Regions from separate parts of the Homo sapiens genome. Here all the other regions are linked to region 3. The links are contacts of gene promoters, found by promoter capture Hi-C in blood cells and fetal thymus (Javierre and others, 2016). All regions are on one chromosome and are shown on one strand. Each heading gives the region's core, a stretch centred on a gene start or on the middle of the fragment in contact. The rest is flanking DNA. Distances are from core to core; before and after follow the strand shown.

What was found. The method cuts DNA at HindIII sites, captures the fragments that hold promoters and counts their contacts. A CHiCAGO score of 5 or more calls a contact.
Region 1: a contact is called between the fragment with the promoter of TIGD2 here and the fragment with the promoter of PDLIM5 in region 3, in 2 of 17 cell types (naive B cells and total B cells). The highest score is 9.6, in naive B cells.
Region 2: a contact is called between the fragment with the promoter of TRMT10A here and the fragment with the promoter of PDLIM5 in region 3, in 7 of 17 cell types (naive CD8 T cells, non-activated CD4 T cells, naive CD4 T cells and 4 more). The highest score is 15.7, in naive CD8 T cells.

The regions. Positions count from the first base shown.
Region 1 is chr4:89,110,004-89,113,547 of GRCh38, reverse strand. It overlaps TIGD2 (tigger transposable element derived 2), which reads right to left and starts at 2,015. Exons shown (of 2, transcript NM_145715.3): 1 at 1,665-2,015; 2 at 1-1,481. The coding sequence starts at 573. RefSeq lists a silencer at 1,758-2,207 and enhancers at 2,288-2,367, 2,398-2,507. The HindIII fragment of the contact is 10,355 bases long and covers 531-3,544 here.
Region 2 is chr4:99,562,289-99,565,882 of GRCh38, reverse strand. TRMT10A (tRNA methyltransferase 10A) reads left to right here and starts at 1,844. Exons shown (of 8, transcript NM_001134665.3): 1 at 1,844-1,970. It also overlaps a transcript of MTTP not described here. RefSeq lists enhancers at 1,766-1,825, 2,176-2,305, 1,541-2,740. The HindIII fragment of the contact is 8,482 bases long and covers 1-3,594 here.
Region 3 is chr4:94,449,674-94,453,247 of GRCh38, reverse strand. PDLIM5 (PDZ and LIM domain 5) reads right to left here and starts at 1,306. Exons shown (of 13, transcript NM_006457.5): 1 at 1,253-1,306. RefSeq lists silencers at 807-1,066, 1,237-1,656. The HindIII fragment of the contact is 3,776 bases long and covers 157-3,574 here.

The DNA of each region.
Region 1 (3,544 bases), core at 766-3,265, 5.3 Mb after region 3:
TAATGTCCTTGATGGTAGACATTTCCAAAACAATCCAGTTTGATCAGCACCATAAATTTGCTCTGGTTGTAGATTCTCTTTTTCAACAAATTCCTGAAAGCTACCACAAAATTCTCTGGCAGCAGTTTCATCTCCTTTTAATTTTGTTCCTTTACCAGCAGCCTTTGGAATACCATGGCGCTGCTTAAATCGAGTTAGCCAGCCTGACGATGCATTAAAATCACCTTCCATTCCCAAAGCATCAAAAAAGAACTTGGCTTGTTTTGCACAAATCGTTCCGGACACTGGAATCCCATCTGTTTTCTGTTGGTTAAACCACTCTATCATAACTCTATCAAGCTCCTCGTATGTTGATGACTTCATAGATTTACGTTTGGATACTCCACTGGTAGGATCTGAACTGTTTGCATAGTTTATAATCCTTTCTTTGTTCTTTTTAATATCACGAACTGTGGATTCACCAATTCCGTACACCACGGAAAGTTTTTTGAAAGAGATGCCTTCCTCAAGTTTCTTAATAATGTCAAGCTTGTCCTTAATTGTCAACACCACACGCTTACGTTTCCCCAACATTTTAAGTGTCTAATATTTTAGGTGATTACTAGAACAAGATAATTAACAACTAAGATTTGAATACAAAGCAACTAGAAAATGAGTTCGTAAGATTCCTCCTCTCACTTCTAGGGCCTAGATGGATAGTGACCAATTTCCTGACAAGGTCTACGTGAATCTACTTGCTATTTTAAAACTTACAAACTTCCTACAACAAAGCCTAGCGCCAATTAACTCTTATCTTCTATCTTTCTTCCTCCTCAGGGTTCAGGGTCTTTCATGAAGTGCAATCACACTAGAGGCTAGAAACTGTACTGGTAAGGCTTCTAAAACAGTACTATTGCATACTCAATTCTTGCCATCCTTGCAGGTAATGTTCTTTGCCAGAATAGCCACTAAATCTCAGGTGGAAGTATTTTAGGAAATGTGCTAGGGAGTAAACAGTTTAAGTCAAGAGAGGACTTGCAAACTTGACATACAGGAAAATACAATGGGAAAACTCACCCTCTGACTATGTGGTCTTTGTCAAGCAGTGGATTGTATGGAATGCTGTCTCTCTAGGCACGGACTCTGCTATAGGTTGCGCAAGTGAGTGCTTGTGGAAATCATACGCAAGAGAAGATGACCCGGACAGAAGTGAACAGTGCAAATAAGGTGAAAGTGGAACAGGCAGAAAACTCTACTTTAAAAGCGACTTAAACCTACTAGATTTGGCAGCTGGAAAGGAGGATAGTGGACATGTGATGTCACATTACTAAAGAAAGCATCAAAAAAACTGCATCGGTGGAAATGAGGACCCAAGGTAGAGGCTATGGGGTGGCAGGCTCGGTGAAGATGATGTTACAATAATCCTGGTGAAAGACGATCCTCGATGGACCAACAGAAGCAGTTCCTGTGGGGGCTGTAGAGATACTCGGAGGCTCCGAAACCTAAAGGAAAATACCAAAAACATTTTCTTTCAATTCAACATCAGGATCTGTGGCATTATCCACATTTATCCTGCAACTATGTTGAGAAAATTAACGCCTCCTATCAATGTGATAGCTAAATACGACAAATAATGCTTTCAGGCATAATCTGGGGTGACAGAGAGAGGGACCTGAAGAGCCTACCTCCTGAAATTAAGAGGTCAGGGAGAAGCCGTGTTAGCGAGGGCCTCTCCCCGCTGGGCGAGCTTCAGAGCGCGGGACGTCTTTCCTCCCGCGGAGGGAGCCCGGATTCCGCCTGGACGCCGGCGACCAGGATGTCACTGCTGCAGCCAGCCAGCCAGCGGGCGGCCGCTTGGCACAGGGAACGCCAGTCCGCCGGCCCCGGGCATCGCCCTGGGACCGCCTGCGCGGCGCCCAGACCACACTAAGCGCAAATGGAGTCTCCTGAGGCAGGCTGGCACTGGTGGCCCGGCAGCGGCGAGGGACGAGCGGAGAGGGACGAGCGTCGCCGCCGGAGCCGGAAGGCGGGGGATTAGAGAGCACGCGCGCGCCCCCGCAGAACGTTGTGCCGGCGAGGGGGCGGGGCCTGCGCGGGTGAGCGCACGCGGCCCGGGGGAGGGGACTCCGGCGAGCGGGCGGGAGGGGCGGGGGCCCGGCAGGGGTGCGTCTCTAGGCGCTGCGTGGGTTCCACTCACCGCCTGGCCGTTTCGGGGCCGCAGTGCCTCCCTGGCCGGCAGGGGGAGGCACACGCTCGCCTTGTCCTGGCGCTTTTCCCAGTGGCCCGGCTCTGCCGACGAGGCTCTTTTCTCCCTAGGGGGAAATTTTAAAATCTCACCCCCCCAGTGCTGGGGGGAAAGCGGAGGATCCTCGCGTGCCGGGAGCGGGCTGCGAATGGGGCAGGGCGAGCGCACGTGGGGCGTGTTTACAAACAGCAGCCGCGCCGCCTTGCGGAGGCGGTCCAGGTGTCGGAGCCCAGAGTCAGCGCGCGTGGAAAGTGCTAGCCCGAGCGAGGATCATGAGGCACGGTAGGAGCCGGCGGACGTGGGTTCCGGGCAGGAGCTGGGGCGTTCGCTCGGCAACACCCAGCCGGACAAGCCCAGGGTGCCGAGGCGCGGCGGGCTGCGGTAGAGCCGAGTGTCGGGTCAGCGCTCCCCGGTGCTGATGCTCCGAAACTCGTCACAGTCGCTGTAGAGACGGACCCTTTGCAAAATCGACAGCACCTGGGAGACCCTTGAGCCAGTGGGAGGCGTCGTGGTAAATTTCCTGCCGTGCCTCGACGCCCGGGGCTTCTCAAGTGGAATCGGGGAATTGCGCTTTGACTGATACTCCCTTTATTTGTTTCCAACGGAGACATCTGCGGAAGGGTCACCGCCTTCCTGGAGGAGAGAGTGGTGCACCTCCACCTTGCACCACCTGTTTCCTGGGAAACGCGGTCAGGCTGCCTTCCTTTCCGTCTTGTGTGTGCGTGTCAGTTTGAAAAATTGGAAATTCTTCAGTGAATTATCTCTTCCATATGAACATAAATGTAACCTTTTCGTTAACACAAAGTAACATAGTAATTCGTCATTTCTTTGACAAGGCCATATACTGTTTCTGGAATTTCAGAAACTTGGAGATGGAAATCAAAGCGAGCATACTGTAGAAAACAGATGTTGATTCTAAGCCTTCTGTTTGACTCCGCCGCCAAAACTGCTCAATTGCCTTTCTCAACATAGCAGCCTTCCACTATCTGGCATGACAGAAATTCTTTGATCTAGTTATGTTGTGAGGTTGTAAGTGGCTTTTGGAGAATACCTGCTTTTAGACCTCCCCTCTTCCCTGCCTTCCATTTGGCTTCCAACAAGCCAGTCCCTTTCTGGAAGTCCTGGTTGCCTGTTTTGGGTACATTATAACTTACTTCATGGTAGTTTTATATAACTTTACAAAATATTCTTATTTTCCCTGATACCTGTGAAGAGCGTGAAAGACTGCTAGAACAGCACTTTACCGACTGCCACCCATGTGGAAATGAGGCAGCCTGTAACCAGATGTCAGCCGCCTGCCTTTCCGCCTCTCCCCCGAGT
Region 2 (3,594 bases), core at 595-3,094, 5.1 Mb before region 3:
AGCTTTTCAGTCATGTGCAAAACTATGACACGCTTAGGTCTTTGCTTTCACTGTTCCCAATATCTTAAACTTCTTCACTTTTCTGACACCTGTACAACTCCTACTTACTTTCCAAGATGAAACAAAATTATTTAATCTCCAAAACTATGTCCTCTGCCTCAAGGAGCATTTAGTTGCTTCTTTCAAAGTACAAGCATCTCAAGTACATGTTGTATGGTATTTATTTACTGCTGGCTCCCCTATTAGATTAAGGATTCCTTAAGCACAGAGAGCATGATTTCGTCATTTCTGTATCACCAATACTAAGACAAAACGCATAGAACTCGATACATGTGTCAAATAAATAAATACATAAATTTTACAAATCAATGAAAATATTGTTTCACATGATTTCACCGTCTTAAACTTTCTATATGTTTCAATTTTTTGTTAAATTGACTTTTGCTGGTGCTCTTTTGGTGCTTACTTTGGATTAATAATAGAATCATTTTAAATTTTGCACCAAATGACTACAAAGTTAAATGTCTATGTCAAAAGAAAATTTATTGACTTCATTATTAGAATATGAAGTGGTTTTTTTTGCTTTAAAACTTTGTTTAAAATATCTAAGGAGGCCAGGTATTAACTCTGAAAAAACTGTATAATTATTTATAAAACAGATCCCATAGGAGCAACTGAACAGCTGTGGAAAGATTTGGCACATCACTTTGCCAGCCTGAATTTAATGACCTACATGTGAAGGGCTACATATCCAATTACTAATCCTCCCTCAGCTACTCTTTGCCCTCATATGGAGGCAGCTGAAAAAAGATGCCCTACTAACAGATCAGAAGTGGATCCAGACTTTTTTGCCAGTGCTCAGTTAACAAAGATCTTTTAGGTTTGAGATGAGGAAGAAACAGAAGAGGGACTCACAACAGTGTTATAGCTGATACAGTGTTTCAAGTAAAATTTAAGGGCTTATGGCAAGAGTGACTTTAGTTTTGTAACTAAAGTCAAAGAAATTTCGGCTCTTTTAGAGAATCTCAAATTCTGGATTTAATTTTCTATTCACTGAAGCCTTTAAACATGTTCAAATATCTTCAAGGATAATTTACTTCAAAATTCTTTCTATATGAGAAGCCAGTCTTCTATTCAAGATGCAAACCTCATTCTTACCTTCAAATTCTGCAATAATCACCTATTAGAAGTAGAGGAGAAAAAAACTAAATAGAAAATGACAATCTACGGGGTTGTATTTCATTTCTCTCTCAGTTGACATGATCTATATATAGCAAAAGATTATATAAGGTCAAGTATTATAAACAATGAAATGTCATCTGATGTTTTGCAAAACAGCATAGGAAAAATAGCTCAAGGAATGAATAAAGAGTAAAGCTATGGCTGTTTTACTTCAGCCATAAAAAAGCCTTACAGATTCTAAATTTAAATGCATTTTATTGTGAATCTGACTCACTTTTTGAATTTAATTTTCCACTTGAGTTATGTAAAATCATGTGATATGGTAATTTTCTGTATAAATTAAAAATAATATAGGCAAGAGATGTTTTTCTCTCATTTTCAACACAGAAAAATTAGGAGCCTTTCTTCGTTGTTTTGCATTTTTAACAGTGGGACTATCTTAATTCCTTCATCCAATACTCACAAGAATATATGAATGAATACACGTCTGCAGGTACACACTTAATTCTTGAACGGGAAAAAACAGACATCACTGTAACTACCTCCCACTCCCAAAACACTAACTCCAGACCCCGCCCCGCATAAACCCCTCCCCTTTCTTCCATTGCGGGTTCGAAATGGCCGCAGTTCGATGACGTAAGACGCAACCGCCGTAGCCTCCACTGCGTAACTACCGCCCCTGCCTCTGGGAATTGAAGTTTCTGTGGAAGGAAGCGTGAGCCGTAACCAGGCCAACCCAGAAAGGCTTTCTTTCTGAGATTTCACTTCCCTGTCAACTCTTCAGCTCGGTAAGTGTCCTGGCACTGGTTGGCGCTCCCCCGCACTATGGTATTCTCTGGACGCAAAGGGGCGCGTGCCATGCAGCCCCCTACTAGCAACAAGGGCTTCCGGGGGAGAGGGGAGCAGTGGTGTGGAAGTGGTTTCCTGCGGCGCTCTTGCTGAAGGAAATGACGTCGATGACAGGCGCCCCCCGCGGCCTACCCAGCTGCTCCCTGGTTCGCCAGAGACAGCTTAATCCCGTCTCTGAAATGCGTTTGCTGGCTGGGAGCCTAGAAGGGATAGTGGGCGAGGCTCCGCCCCGTGGTGGGGCGCTTTCCGTCGGCGTGTGTTTTGGGGTTGCCATCGGCCCGTAGTATGTGAAAAGTGAGTTTGCAAAGAATCAGTGGGAAATCTGTACTCTAAAGGGCCGGAAAGCGTGTTATGGCCCTGCCACTTCGTGGCTAGAGACCGTGGGCTTTACCTCTTTAAAGCTGCCTTACCTCATTTTTCCTGCAAAGGGCTGACGTCGCTGAACTCTCTGAAATGTAGAGAGCCCGAGGGGAAGTTGCTGCAGGTGCTGTGAGCTGAGGACAGTTTTATAAAGATCGAAGTGTTACTTGATTTCACTGAAATACTTTAAATTTGGGAATTTTTCTACAGATATGAAGAGGATGGCAACACATTACTTGTCACTTTCTGAAAGAATTTCATCTGCCCCTTCCATTCCCAACCCTCTGCCCAAAAGGCTTGACAACTGAAGTGAACAAAGGGCTTTTCGCTCCTCCACGTTTAGTCCGCATGTCTTTTAAAAGGGCATTCCTGGCCGGGCGCGGTGACTCACGTCTGTAATCCCCGCACTTCGGGAGGGCAAGGCGGGTGGATCACCTGAGGTCAGGAGTTCGGGACCAGCCTGACCAACATGGTGAAACCCCGTCTCTACTGAAAATACAAAATTAGCCGGGCGTGGTGGCGCATGCCAGTAATCCCAGCTACTGGGGGGGCTGAGGCAGGAGAACTACTTGAACCCAGAAGGCGGAGGTTGCAATCAGCCGAGATTGCGCCATTGCACTCCAGCCTGGGCAACAAGAGCGAAACTCCGTCTCAAACAAACAAGAAAGGCCGGGCGCAGTGGCTCATGCCTGTAATCCCAGCACTTTGGGAAGCCGAGGCGGGTGGATCACGAGGTCAAGAGATGGAGACCATCCAGGCCAACGTGGTGAAACCCCGTCTCTACTAAAAATAACAAAAATTAGCTGGGCGTGGTAGCGCGCACCTGTAGTCCCAGCTACTCGGGAGGCTGAGGCAGGAGAATCGCTTGAACCCGGGAGGCAGAGGTTGCAGTGAGCCGAGATTGCGCCACTGCACTCCAGCCTGGGCGACCTAGCAAGACTCCCTCTCAAAAAAAAAAAAAAAAAAAAAAAAAAAAGGCATTCCTTTGCTATCGCTGTCAAGTCATTAATTCCAATCTGCATTATTCCCACATTCGTTGAGATTTTTCTGAAAAGGAGACTGTCATAAATTAACGACGATTATTTATTTTATCCCAATCCATAACTTAATGCAGTTTTAAAAAACTTTTTTTTTTCTTTTGGTGCTCATTGATGTAGGATGTGTCCTTGCCTTACAAAGTGAGATAGTTTGTAAGCCCACTTA
Region 3 (3,574 bases), core at 57-2,556:
TTAGTGCCCAAGCCCTTCCTCAAATACCAAGCAGGCAGGAAATAGCAGCATACTCTTTCAAACACGTCGAAAAGGTTGGAATTTCTGTAGAGTTATGGATTTTCTTTTAGGGAAAGTCTAAACAATGTCTTTGCTCTAGTACTAGGGAAGGAAGCTTGGTATTTCCCACACTTGTATCTCAGCTTCATTAGTGGGTGAGAGGGGAGAAAGGAGAACTCAAGATGAACTACACAGAGTGACAAAAAAAAAGGCCTGAAATTAAAGAGAAATATCTTGAGATTCTCTTTCCCCGCAATGGAGAGAGAATGTAGGTAGAGCTGAAGAACTAAAGCCACAGGCACAGGATGAAAGCAGCCGACAGGACAGTTTTCCAGGAGGGATTCGCGCCTAGCCTTGTTGGCCAAATAAGGCTACCGAACGGGCCGTTTCCGTGGCAGGCGGGTTCAGACGTCCTCCCCGTCAGGAAGGCGGACTTGGGATAGGATCTGGCGATCACACCCTAAATCTGCCCTGCCCAGCGCCGCCACGAATTTTCCTTCCAAGCTCTGCCCTGTCCACACGCCCTTCCTTTTTCCACTTATTGTAAAACGCACCGAAGGCACAGTCTTACAAAAGCCCCAACAAGTACTCAAGTGTTAACAAATCTCGTGTTCATGACAAATGTGTTTCTTAAACGAGCTTTATTTCTGGACGCGCAGAAGTTTTCCCCAAACAGGTTACACAAAACTGTAAATATCTGGGGGAGAAATAAATGCTTCTCAGTAGCCTGGGAGCAAAGAAAAACTAACGCGCCTTTTCCTTTGAGTCCCGCTTCCTACCCTCCAAGAGACTGGCGCAGGACTGGGCACTCAGACACCACACCACGGTGGTGCCGGGCGACGCCGGCAGCCGGGTGGGTGGGAGCGGCAGTGCCCGTCCCTGCCGGCCCTCGCCACCTCCGGGCGCCCTCCCGCGTCCCCGTCTCCGCTACGCTGGTCCCGGTCGGCCCGGGCTGCGGGGACCCCAGGGCTCGCCCTCTGGCCTCATGCGGACTCCAGCGCTGCCCTTTTCCGGGCGCTCCTTTTCCCAAGCTGCTCTCCCACCTCCGCCGCTCCGCGCCCAGAAAGCACCTGAGGAGCCATCCCTGCCCGAGGAGCGCCCCCTCCTCGTCCCCAACCGGGCTTCCCTTCTCGCGTTCGGCGCACAGCGGCCGGTTCTTTCCCTTCTCCCACCGGAGATCCGAGAGGCGCATCGCCGGCCGGCCGCCACTCACCTCGGGTCCGGCGCGGCGCGGGGCTGCCTCCGCCTCAGACAAGGGCTGACAAGTGACTCGCGGTGAGGGCGCCGTCCCCACCGCCCGCGGGAACTTCCGCCTCCTGGCTCTCCCTCGCCCCACCCCCGACCCAGGACACGCCCCTCCGCTCCCGGCCACGCCTCTGGGCCAGTCCCAGCCGCGCCGCGCAGGGGCGGGGAAGGTGGCGGCGGCGCCGGGCGCTCGGGCTTGCTGGGGCTGGCTGAAGCAGCTGCGGAAAGACAACTGCGCTACCGAGTTTCGGTGGGAGTAGTCTTAGCGGATTTTGAGCGCTACCTGGCAAAGGTCTAACCCTCCGCTCGTCCGTTTTGTAGTGGGTGCATTTTTCTCTCCAGAAATTTAAATTGGCAAGCAGTTGCTCTGCCTAAAAATAGAAGGGTACTTTGGATAAATCTCTATCTATGCAAGTTCAGCGGTTACTGCCTGCGTTTTTTTTTTTGAAAGAGCTTTACATGCTCTGAAAAGTGCAGACCCAGAAGTTTACCTGTCAGGAAGGTGAAAACCAGTAACCCTAACAGAAGTTAACCCTGTCCATCACACCAGAAGACAGTGATACATAAAAGCGGCCAAAAGTGATTCAACCACTGTATCTTCAGTTTATTTTTCTAAATCCAAATCAATAGTCCACTTTCCAGCCTTCTATAGGGTTGCTTGATACGCCCGAGGAATTTATTCATAAGAAAACGTGAATAATGTTCACTGAACATACGGAAAGTAACTAGACTGTTACACTGTGAATTGGCTTATAAAACGTGAAAAGGACAATTCTTAACCAAGGAGCATATAAAGCAAGGATGAACTTCATGAGGTCCGTGAGCTCCCCGGCCCCCAGAAGTGCAAGCAAAATTCCAAAGGCGAAGATCCAAAGCTGCTCTTTCCCTAACGGTAGCCACTGGCCACATGTGGCTATCGAACAGTTGAAATGTGGCTACTGTAACTGAGACCATGAATTTTTTGTTTTACGTAATTTTAAATAATTTAACATTTAAAACTGAAGCAGGATAACATTTCTTTACTTTTTTTTTCTTTGAGACGGATTCTTGCTCTGTCTCCCAGGCTGGGATCAGTGGTGCAATCTCGGCTCACTGCAACCTCCACCTCCCGGGTTCAAGCGATTCCCCTGCCTCAGCCTCCTGAGTAGCTGGGATTACAGGCGTGCGCCACCACGCCCGGCTAATTTTTTGTATTTTTAGTAGAGATGGGGTTTCACCATGTTGGCCAGCCTGATCTCGAACTCCTGACCTCAGGTGACCAACCCGCCTCGGCCCCGCAAAGTGCTGGGATTACGGGCATGAGCCACCGCGCCAGGTCGTTAACATTTCTTTTAAGCACTACATTTAAGGACTAAAGTTGAAAATATAATGCCCAAATTGAAATGCGTTGGAAGTGTAAAATGCACACTGGATTTCGACGACTTGGTATGAAAAAATAATGTAAAATGCCTCAATAATTTTTATATTGATTATATGCTGAAATCATCATATTTTATGTTTTGTTAAATGATACATGATTATGGCCGGGCGCGACGGCTCACGCCTATAATCCCAGCACTTTGGGAGGCTGAAGCGGGTGGGTCACCTGAGGTCAGTAGTTCAAGATCAGCCTGGCCAACATGGCGAAACCCCGTCTCTACTAAAAATACAAAAATTAGCCGGGTGTGGTGGCGCATGCCTGTTATCCCAGCTACTTGGGAGGCTGAGGCAGGAGAATCACTTGAACCCGGGAGGTAGAGGTTGCAGTGAGCCGAGACCATGCCACTGCCCTCCAGCCTGGGCGACAGAGCAAGACTCCGCACCAAAAAAAAAAGAGTAATAATAATAATATTTGATTAAAATTAATTTCACTTTTTAAAAAAAATGTGGCCACTAGATAATTTAAAATTACTTACGTGAGCAGGGTGCAGTGGCTGACACCTATAATCCTAGCACTTGGGAGGCTGAGGTGAGAAGATGGCTTGAGGGCAGGAGTTTGAGGTTAACCTAGGCAACATAGCAAGACCCATCTCTAAAAAAATCCAAAAAATTAGCTGGGCGTCGTGTAGTGTGCCTGTAGTCCCAGGTCCCAGCTATTTGTATTGCTGAGCCCAGAAGTTCGAGGCTGCAGTGAACTATGATCTTGTCTTTGCACTCCAGCCTGGGTGACAAAGGAAGACCCTGTTTCTAAAAAAATAAATAAATAAAATTACATATGTGCTTCACATTATATTTTCATTGGACAGCACCAGTCCATAGCTTTCACCACATTTTTCAAAAGATGGCTTTGGGGGAAAGTGTTTCCTAGTGT